Linked DNA regions of Homo sapiens: region 1 is linked to region 2. Evidence: promoter capture Hi-C in human tissues and cell types (Jung and others, 2019). All regions are on one chromosome and are shown on one strand. The core of a region is centred on a gene start or on the middle of the fragment in contact, and the rest is flanking DNA. Distances in the headings are between cores, read along the strand shown. Region 1 holds the start of ZG16B (zymogen granule protein 16B). Region 2 holds the start of KREMEN2 (kringle containing transmembrane protein 2).

What was found. The method cuts DNA at HindIII sites, captures the fragments that hold promoters and counts their contacts. A contact is called where the count stands out against the background at its distance.
Region 1: the fragment with the promoter of ZG16B here is called in contact with the fragment with the promoter of KREMEN2 in region 2 in 2 of the 25 tissues and cell types used here (lymphoblastoid cells and pancreas).

Annotation. Positions count from the first base shown.
Region 1 is chr16:2,828,976-2,834,196 of GRCh38, reverse strand. ZG16B (zymogen granule protein 16B) reads right to left here and starts at 3,894. Exons shown (of 4, transcript NM_145252.3): 1 at 3,869-3,894; 2 at 3,704-3,782; 3 at 3,401-3,503; 4 at 1,921-2,401. The coding sequence starts at 3,755. The coding sequence ends at 2,038. The HindIII fragment of the contact is 17,999 bases long and covers 1-5,221 here.
Region 2 is chr16:2,962,663-2,967,928 of GRCh38, reverse strand. It overlaps KREMEN2 (kringle containing transmembrane protein 2), which reads right to left and starts at 3,654. Exons shown (of 9, transcript NM_172229.3): 1 at 3,315-3,654; 2 at 2,896-3,070; 3 at 1,698-1,789; 4 at 1,480-1,604; 5 at 1,134-1,287; 6 at 687-1,019; 7 at 484-609; 8 at 325-403; 9 at 1-119. The coding sequence starts at 3,408. RefSeq lists enhancers at 2,156-2,275, 1,878-2,837, 4,806-4,935, 4,422-5,266 and silencers at 2,636-3,005, 3,076-3,325, 3,856-3,935, 4,486-4,615, 4,646-4,725. The HindIII fragment of the contact is 31,540 bases long and covers 1-5,266 here.

The DNA of each region.
Region 1 (5,221 bases), core at 2,645-5,144, 130 kb after region 2:
ATTTAAAATTAAATAAAAATAAAAGTAGAGAAGAGAAAAAACGTCTGTGTGTATTTCATGCAGAAAGATGAAACTGGGTTGGGAAATCTTTGCCTAGGTCTGGTGTTCAGTGGCCAGACTTTGCAGCTTGGTCACCTCAAGGTGGACCTCCAACTCTACCTCTAACGGCTGCGTGGGACAAGTCACTTTGCTCTCAGTTCCTCTGTTTCCTCATTTTGCAAATGAGGATAATTGAAGTCCTGTCCTTCAATTGTTGTGGGTGGGGACTTTGGGTGGAGCCCCTGAAATAGGACCTGGCCCTTCCCGTGATCACTGACTGGCTGTTGCATTAGATGATCACTGGGCGTTTGGCTGTTGCATTAGATGATCGCTGGGTGTTTGGCTGTTGCATTAGATGATCGCTGGGTGTTTGGCTGTTGCATTAGATGATCGCTGGGTGTTTGGCTGTTGCATTAGATGATCGCTGGGTGTTTGGCTGTTGCATTAGATGATCGCTGGGTGTTTGGCTGTTGCATTAGATGATCGCTGGGTGTTTGGCTGTTGCCTTAGATAATCACTTGTCTGTTTGGCTGTTGCATTAGATGATCACTGGGTGTTTGGCTGTTGCATTAGATGATCACTGGGTGTTTGGCTGTTGCATTAGATGATCACTTGTCTGTTTGGCTGTTGCATTAGATGATCACTTGTCTGTTTGGCTGTTGCATTAGATGATCACTGGGTGTTTGGCTGTTGCATTAGATGATCACTTGTCTGTTTGGCTGTTGCATTAGATGATCACTTGTCTGTTTGGCTGTTGCATTAGATGATCACTGGGTGTTTGGCTGTTGCATTAGATGATCACTGGGTGTTTGGCTGTTGCATTAGATGATCGCTGGGTGTTTGGCTGTTGCATTAGATGATCGCTGGGTGTTTGGCTGTTGCATTAGATGATCACTGGGTGTTTGGCTGTTGCATTAGATGATCGCTGGGTGTTTGGCTGTTGCATTAGATGATCGTTGGGTGCTTGGCTGTTGCATTACATGTGTTGCTTCCTGTGTCTCAAGTAGGATCAATTTCTCTCTGTGGATCATGGTCCCAAAGGACTGAAAACCCCGTCCCTGGAGGCCCCTGGAGCTCTGATCTTGGCAAGTGCCCATGTGGGCTTGGAGGCTTGGGAAGGGGACATGAAGAATGGGCCAGGTCCAGGGCTTGTACTGATTTCCTGTTGCTACTGTGACAAATTACCCCAGCCATCTGCATCTCCTGTCTTTGCTCATGTTGAGCCCTCAACCTGTAATCCCCTCCTCCCTTTGTCTCCACTTGGCCAATTGTCCTTCATCCTTTAAGACTTAGCTCAGACATTGCCTCCTCTAGGAAGACTTCCCTGAAGCACATCCCTCTCACCTCACCTCTGGGCAGGTGCCTACGCACAATGACCTGCATGTGTCCCCATCCATGCAGATGGCAAAGTGAACTGCCACTATCTGCCTCTGCACCAGCCCCCACCACAGTGTATACGCACTCAGCTGAAACCTGGCCTCTTCTTTATACCCCCAGTGCCAGGCGAGCCTGGTGAGGACACGGCCTTGGCAAATGTTTGCTGAGTGAATGGATGAGTGAGTGGCTTCCCTGAGGCCCCTTGAGCACTCAGAGAATCCCGGGACTGAGTGGCCAGCAGAGGCCCGCTGGGTGGGCCTGGGGTGAGGGACAGTGGGGAGTGGCGGCCTTGAAGCCTGACTCTTCAAAGATTGTGGGACTGGCACAGAGATCCACAGCACCTCTGAGGGGGTGGTGCTGCTCTCTTTCTGTCCTCGGCAGAGTCACCTTTGCCCTACCCCTCATCTCAGTTCACTGGGCTGCAGCACTGGGGACTTTGTCTCCAAGGAGCAGGGAAGGCTTTGGTTGTACCCCAGATCCAAGGACCAATCCTGGATGCACTGATTCTGCAGAACCTTTATTTATTGGTGGATTCAGATTCAGCGTCCCGACTCAGTTACTCCAGTACCATCAGCCACCACCACCCAGATGGCCTCAGCTCGGATGGCCCCATACCCCACCCTAGCGACCCACGGGTGAGTTTGCTGAGTATGTGAGATTAACTGGTGGCTCAGTGGTCGGCTCCTCTAGTGGATAATTCCATTCAAAGCCAATGCTCTTGATGCCAAGGAGTTGATACTGGCCATAGATGCCCACCAGCACCTGCCCCTCTTGGCTGGGGTAGGCAGAGGAGATCTGGCCATCAAGCTTCCCAAAATAGAAATAGCGGTCCTTGCTGGTGTACATGACCATACCCCGGAGGAAAGCTTGGAAGGCGACAAAGACTTTTGTGATGTATTCGCCTGGCTGCAGGGTGACTTCCTGGGTATTCCCACCTAAGGCTCCCAGTTTCACGTCCCAGGAGTCTCCAAGTTTCACCTGGACACTGGGAGAGAGGCAAAGCTTTGGACGTCCAGATCTGGGATGGCCCAGCACATCCCGGGTCCTCAGCGCCCCCATCCTCCTTCCCGGGATGCAGAGAGTCCAGCACCATCAGACTTTGGGTCCCTGACACAGACTCACTGGTCACCAACCCTGATTCTACCACTTTTGGGCCCTGTGATCTTGAGCTCGTTACCCAGCCTCTCCGGACTCAGTTTCCCCGTCTGCAAAGTGGGTGTGACTTTTGGGAGGAGTCACTGAGATCCTGGTGAGGAGAGCTGCGTGCAGCGCCAGGTCTCCGTGACCCAGAAGGCACCAGCTGCCGTCACTGTGGCCCACATATGAGCTGCCTCTGGCCGAGCCTGGACCTCCCGAGCCTTAGTCACTCCAAGCAGAGCAGCTCACAGGCCGAGGGGCAGGTGACTTCCCACACTCGCCAGCGCTTCCCTGACGGGGCTCATCTTCACCCCTCCCTCACCCTGGTGCTCTCCCAGGATGCACCCCTCCGGCTCGCCCCGCCCACACTCTGTCTCCTCTGCTATTGGGCTTCTCTCCCCTCTCCCAGGACCCCAGAACTTCTAAATGCAGGGCAAAAATCCATCCCAGACCTCCAGCAGAGACACTTCGATATTAAGGAAATGGCCCTGGACTTCTGCCTCTAACACTTCTGCGACTCATATTCAGTCAGTGGTCCACTCTGACCCTTACCTCCTGTCTTCTTTGACAGTAATCGGACAGACTTTCCCCTGACTTTCCTATCAGGCATGGGGACAGAGGGGCCATTTTTGGTTGAGTTGAGCTTGGGTTGAAGGGAGAAGGTAGGGAGGACGGTCTGACCGTCTCCGCTCCAGCCAGGAAGCATCAGCGGGAGCCAGGAAGCATCGACAGTAGCCAGGCATGTGTGGCAAAAGTGGCCACGGGTGCTTACCCCCTGCCCTGAGTTCCTGAAACTGTGGGATGGGAGGGGACATGGCGCTGGGCCCATGACCATAGCCCTACTCACCTTTTCACCAGGAGAAGACCTACAGACACCCGCAGCCCTGTGATTTCATGGTCGTAGTCTTCAGTGGTGCTGAAATACTTGCCTCCTCCAGGGCCATACATCTCTGAAGAAAAGAGAGACCCAAAGGGAAGAAAATCCCCATGCGGTGATATGGGGGTGACCTCTGCCAGAACAGGGGACCCCACCCCTCCAGGCAGACAGGATGGTTCTGTGACCAGAGTTAGTCTGGGACAAGGGCCGGGTGAGTCCCTGGCTCTCCTGGAGGGAGGCAGGGGAGATTGAGGGCAGACCCCACTGACTTACTCCCTGCCCAGGTGGGGCCCCCCAGGAGGGCAAGCGTGAGCAGCAGCAGCATGGCCTCTGGCCGGTGCATCCCAGGGCTCTGTGGGAAGAAGAGAGGCCTCCTGACTCCAAAGCAAGGGCCAGTGTGACCTTGCCGGGCCCCACCCATGGAGCCAAGCACCTTACCTCGCCTGTGACTGGGCGTCTGGTTGTGCCGGGCACCCTCCACATCGCCTTTATACTCTCCTGGGCCCCCTGGGCCCCCATCCAGAAGGAAGAAGCGAGGGGCCGCCAGGGGAACAGGAAGGAGCTGGCCGTGGGGCTCTTCCTGGGGGAAGGCCCAGGGCCGGCCTTGGGGAGGCTCCCGGATGTGCAGTATTTGCTGTCTTGGCTCTGCAGCCTACATAAACGAAGCTGAGAACAGTGACAGGCATTTCACAGTTATCTCTGGGATCTCTCCAGTCAGCACTGGCACCGACTTGAATGGCAGAGGTGGGGAGAGGCTGGCTTATCCAGCGCAGCCTGATGGCTTCCACCTGAGGGTGGCGGGTCAAGGGTCCACAGAAGCTCCGTGGGGCCCACTCCTGCCGTGGGCGACCTGGAGTCAGGGCCTCCTTCGGACTCAGGCAGCACCTGGTGCCTGGCAGCCTTCCTGGGACCCAGGCCGAGCTCGACGCGGGCCCTGAGAGAGCCTGAATGGATCACCCAGCCCTTTGTGTCCTGTGCCCTGTGCGGCAGGTGCACCAGGCACTGGCCCTCAAGGCACTGCCCTTAGAGGCTGCCCGGGTCTCTCCTCTGTGCTGTATCTGGGTGGAGCAGGTATGAGCCAGTGTTCAGGGACTCAGAGGCCATGGGAGGGAAGGACACCAAAGGTGCAGTCCATGCCACGATGGGAGGCAGAGGGCCTGGGGAGGGCGACCCCCCAGGCCGGTCCTTCCGAGGTGTCGGCCCTCATCTGGGCGGGAACTGGCGCTTCTCCAGGGCTCGGTCCCCGGGGCCCTGCTGGTTTTCTGTCTCACTCCTTTCCCCCTCAGCCCCTCTTGTCAGGGAGGCCTGTGCAGGCGGATGCCTGTGGGCAGAACGCCATCACCCTCAGACGCCAGCTGAGAAAAGCTCGTGTTCGGAGATGTCTCATCCCAAGGACCCTGAAGGACCCAGGGCACTGGGAAGGAACTGGAGTCTGCAGAAGAGTTGGGGTGTCGGATAAGGATCAGGGGAGAAGAGATAAAGGCCGTCAGATGCCCAAGCGAGGCGGGAACTAGGGGACAGATTGCAGCTCAAGCGCAGTTCCATGCGTGTCCTCAGGACACCTCTTGTGTGTGTTCCAGGGACTGAAGCTCCTCAGGGCCTGTGACCGCTGGGAACAGCCACAGGGCTGTGATCACCAACACAGGACCCTGGAGCCAGACGTGGGTCCAGCCGGGCTTCCTGACGTAGCGGGGCTGGGATCTGCGGGCTCTTGCTTCACCTCTCTGGGCCTCTGTTCTGCGGATAACAACAGAACCTCCCCCTGAGGGTGCTGTGAGGGCCTCCCTGGAG
Region 2 (5,266 bases), core at 2,405-4,904:
CGGGGGAGCAGGGCAAGGCCACCCCTCGGGGCTGTTGGTACCACACAGCCCAGCTTCTCCTGGGGCCCCTGGAAGCCCCCAGCGCCGGGGGCCCTTTTCCCGGAGCCAGCAGACAGCTCCTAGAGAGGGAGCAGACATCAGCCGAGCCGGTCCAATCCCGCTGCAGCGTCCTGCTCTACCTGCGATCCCGCGCGCGATCCTGTGCGTGGACCCAAAGCCTCGCTCCCTTAAGAACCCAGGAGTTCCTTCCTAGCTCTGTTCCCTTCTGGGGCTCCAGCTCCCCACCACCGGTCCGCCCTCAGGCCCTGCCCCAGCGCCCCGCACCGTCGGCGCAGCGGACGCAGCAGCCCCAGGAGCAGCAGCAGCAGCACCGAGACAGCCGTCACCGTCGAGAAGACCCGGGCTGCGGGCACACGGCTGCGGTGAGGATGGGCGCGAGGGGGCGGCTCCCTGACTCACTCCCGTCCCGCGCGCCCGCCTCACCCCCAATCGCGGCCGGCGGAGCCCCAGGCCTGGGGCTGCAGCTCACGTTGGCCCCGTCGAGGGGCGCCGCGGGGGTCTGGGCCGAGCCCTCGGGGGCCTCTGGGTCCTCAGCGGCGTCCTGCAGCCCTGCGGAGAGGGGCGTGAGGCGGGGTGGGGAGAGCGGGGTGGGAACAGCGGGCAGGGCGCGCCGAGCTGAGGCTCACCGCGGTAGGTGAGCGCGAAGCCTTGCGCGTGGCCGCGCGCGTCGCTTCGGAAGGTGAGCAGCAGCGCGGCAGTGCCCAGGCGCAGCGGCCCGGACGGCGGTGGGCGGGCGCCATCGAAGGCGCGGAGCAGGCTGCCCGAAGCCGCGTCGCGCAGCTCCAGCCGGTCGCGCGGGTCGGCCAGCTCGAAGAGGCGGAAGGTGAGCTCCAGCGCGGCGCCTGGCGGGCCCAGGGCCCAGCTGCAGTTCCGGTCCGGCCCGTACTCGTCCGGGAAGTCCGGGGAGTAGATGACGCCCTGAGGCGCTGTCCAGTTCCCCTGGCAGGAGCCCACCGACACTGCGGGCGGGGCCGGCAGTCAGCATCCTGAGGACCAGGACACGGCGGCTCCCCTGCCCGGCCAGGCCCCACCTCGAGGCCCGCCCAGGCCCCTGGTCCCCGCCCACTCCTCACCTTCATAGACGCCCAGCCGCCCATCGCCGCCACACAGCTGTCCAGGGTGGCCGAAACAGATCTGGTCACAGTCGGTGGCGGGGGCCAGGCGTCCCCGGGCCAGGTCGCTTTCAGAGCCACAGAAGCAGGCGTAACCGGCCTCCACGCCCGCCAGCTGGGAGCACAGACTGGGTGACCCCAGGGCAGGGGCTGGGGTAGGGGTGAAGTGGTGGGGGCCTGGGGTCGGGGTGGGAATCGGGCTGGAGGTTCAGAAACCGGTGTCTGGGTTTGGCAACCGAGTGTTGGGAGTTGAGTGTGGTCTTTAGGTCCAGGTCAGGGGTCACTGGTCTGGGCCCGTGAGCAGTACCTGGTACCCCTTCATGCGGCAGAAGCGTAGGCACACCTGGACCGTGAGCTTCGTGGAGGTGCCGCTGGGGCCGCTGAGGGCTGGGGGTGCCCCTGAGTCCACAAAGCATCCCAGGTAGCCTGGCACTGAGGGGGCAGAGTCAGACTTCCGTGACTCCGAAAACAACCCTCCTCCCAGATGCAGCAGCGTTCCCACCTCTGTCCAGCCGCGCTACTCACTGTGACAGGAGGGGATGTCGCAGTAGCGCCAGTAGATGCCCTCCTCTGTCTCAGCCACGTAGCACCACGGCTGCACGTCACCGTCTGGGTTACTGCGGGTGGGAGGGAGGTGGTGGGGCTCCCACCACCCCAAGAATAGCAAACCCAGGCCCGGCCCCGCAGCCTATGCTCAAAGTGGCCTTCAAGGCTCTGTGCCTGTGAGCGGCTGTGCTGCCTGCTGTACACCCACAAATTCCAGTTTTGTCTACGCAGAACTCTGCCTGATGAAGGAACTGGACGTCGACTTCCGAGTGGACAGCGGGAAGTCATTAAAGGGGACTTGAGAGCTGTTTTTAGGCTTCAGCTGTTGCTAGACTTGACTCCATATATGAGGACTTTGAGGCCATCTGTATTCTTCACCCCCACCCGGCATGGGCCTCAGCCACTTCCGTCCCTCAAACCCCACTTTTTTTTTTTTTTTTTGAGACGAGTCTCGCTCTGTCACCCAGGCTAGAGTGCATTGGCGCGATCTCTGCTCACTGCAAGCTCCGCCTCCCGGGTTCAAGCGATTCTCCTGCCTCAGCCTCCTGAGTAGCTGGGATTACAGGCGCCCGCCACCATGCCCCGCTAATTTTTTGTATTTTTAGTAGAAATGGGGTTTCACCATGGTAGCCAGGCTGGTCTCGAACTCCTGACCTCAGATGATCCGCCTGCCTTGGCCTCCCAAAGTGCTGGGATTACAGGCTGAGCCACCGCGCCTGGCCTCCAACCCCACTTAAAAGCAGAAGTGAGCTCCTGAGCTTTGCGGCTCTCCTCCCGCTGGGTCCATCCTGCCTCAGACCGTAGCTGTGGCTCTGAACCCCAAAATAAGTTGTATGACAAGAGCCCCACTCTGACAAGGCCCCGCCCATTCGGCCCCCGCTCTGACCAGGCCCCGCCCATACGGGTCCTTTGAGTGCCCAGGTCCGTTTCTCTCCTGGCCCTGAACTGGAGCTCTGCAGAAATTGTTCACCTGAGGAGGATCCCTTTTGCGCCAGGGTTCCGCGCGCCCCGCCCCGCCCCGCCCCGCCCCTCATTCTGGCCCCGCCCCCAGGTTCTCCAGGAGGCTGGGCTGCCAGTCCACGGCAGACCTCCACCCCGCCCGCACGGAGGCCCCGCTTCGGGCCATCCCTGCAATGGTGAGCCCAGCCTCGCCCCCAGCGCAGGCCCCGCCCCTCACCGGCAGAAGTTGTGCGCGCCCAGCCCCCAGCGGCCGTGGGGGTCGCTGGCGCTGCTGTAGCTGTGTTGCTGCGTCTGGTCCCAGAAGAGGCACGGGCGGCCCGCCCCGCGCGGGCCAGTGCGGTTCTGGTGGCCGCGGTAGTCAGCCCCATTCACCTGGAAGCATTCGGACAGGCCTGCACGGCAAAGGCAGGGCCTGGGGAGGTCCGGACCCACGCCGGGCATCCTCGCGCCCCTACGCCACCTCCCGCCTGGGTCCCCAGCCAGCGACCCCGCACCCGCCCCTGCAGGAGCCCTCGGGCTGCTCAGCTGCTCCGGCCACCTGCTCTGTCCCCCTCCCTAGCCTTGGGGGCCTGGCCCTGGGGGCGGAGGCCGAGGAAGGGGTGGTGAACACGGCCCGACAGCCGTGCGGGGACTTACCTGGACTGTGCAGGCTCCCAGCCGAGGCCCCACGCGGCTGCAGCAGCGGGAGGAAGAGGAGAAAGAGGAAGCCCTGCAGGGCTTGTGTCCCCATCGCTCTCAACCAAGGATAGGTCACCCTCGCCCGGACACGGCCCGGGCTGCCCCCGGGGTCGCTTCGGGGTCTCCCAGGAGACCTAGGGGGCGTTGTCCTCTGACAGTCTCCCCTCGTCCGACTCTGAGCCGCGCTTTCCGTCTGGGGTGGGTAAATCTCTCCTGGGGGTCTTTGCCTCCCAGGGCCTCTGCCCCTAGAGGCGTCTCTCTGTCCCTGTCCCTACCCGGGTCTCTCCGGGGGGAATCTGGCCGGGGGCGTTCTCAGTCTCTGTCTCAGCGAGCTCTGGGCGGTGCCTCAGCCTCTACGCCCGCCCCCTCCCACTGAGCCTAGCTCTCGGCGTCTCCCTCGCCCAGGTCTCCAACGGGCTGACTCCTGCCCGCCTCGCATCCCTCCGTGGGTCCCTCCCCCTGGGTCTCTCCCTCCCCCCATGGGAGGCCGGGAAGCCCCGCCCAGCACTGGAGCGGAGGCAGCAGGTCCAGACGCCTCCCACGCCCGTTCCCCCGACCCCGGGCGTCCAGCGCTTCCCGGCCCCCTCTCCCTCAGGTCGGTGCCGGTTCAAGTGGGAAGGTGTGGAGGGGGACAGGCGGGGCAAGCGGACGGAAGGCCCTTAAAATGGGAGATACAGAACCCCCTCACGTGGTCGCACGCGCCCCAGGACACCCGGAATGTCCGAGTTACAAGCGCCCTCCTCCCAGTGCACGCACGCGCTCGCACTCTCTCCCATTCATTGCCAGGCGCTCACGCGCACACTTTCTTCGGATCCGCACGCCCCTCCCGCCCCTGGTCCAGATGCCGCTGGCCTGACGGAGGAAGCTCCACTCCCTGCCCCCGCGCCCACGAGACAGGCGGGAGTCGTGGACGCTCAGTCCGGGACAGGCAGGGGCAGCTGGTGTCTGGGGAGAAAGGCAGCTGCGCCCCAGGTCCCAGTCTGTCCCCTCCTCCTCCCCCTGCCCCGCCCTTCCCTGGGACCCCCAGCCCAGACTCTCCCGAGCCTTCACACTGCAGTGGAATTCCCCCAGCCGTGCCCCCCACCTGGCGGGGGAGGGGGAGGGGAGCAGGCCCAGGCAGGCGTGGGGGGAAATTCCCCGCCCCCTCCCCCTGGGCCCGACTCCTCCGAGTCCTCTGATCTCCCAGCGCCACCCGCCCGCTGCCCCCAGGGCTTGGGGGGAGGCCAGCGCAGGTGCGTGGGAGGGCGGAGGCGGGGGCCGGGGGAAGGAACTGGTGGGGGCCGGGCGCCCAGAGCGGCCCCGCCCCGCCCAGACCTCTTTGCCCCTCAGTCCAGCCTGCCCAGCCCGCACCAGGCCCTCGCCAAGCTGTCGAGCCCAGGCCGACCAGTCCCCGCCCTGCAGCCCCCACACCGTCTCTGCCCCGGTGTCGATGGAGAAGAAAGATGGGGTTCAGGGAGGTTCTGTCAGGCCCAGGCACCCACTGCGGTGCTGGGACCCGCGAGGATCTTCCAGCTGGCGCCTCACGCGAGTGTGCTCTGGAGGAGGGGCGTGGAGCCGAGGTGGGGGCATTTGAAGGAGATGGACTTGCTGAGACTCTAGGCCAGGGTCCTGGTCGCCTCCTCCGGGAGCCCTCTCAGAGGCCAGGCTGGCCCGGCTCACTGAGCCCTGAGCTGGGGCCTCCAGCACCCACGGGCTCCCTGGAACCCAACTGCGCTTCCCGACGAGGGAGCATCCGGGACCACCTGTCTGCCCGGTTTCTCTTGGCGGGGGCTCAGTGAAGTCCTCCCGGGCTCCAGTCCACAGAGGATGTCCTAGGGGCAGGCCTGCACAATGGCGGTGCGTGGGGAGCTTCACCCCCACAGCCACAGCCATCTGAGGATGGGGCAAGGTGGCGACAGGGACAATTAAGG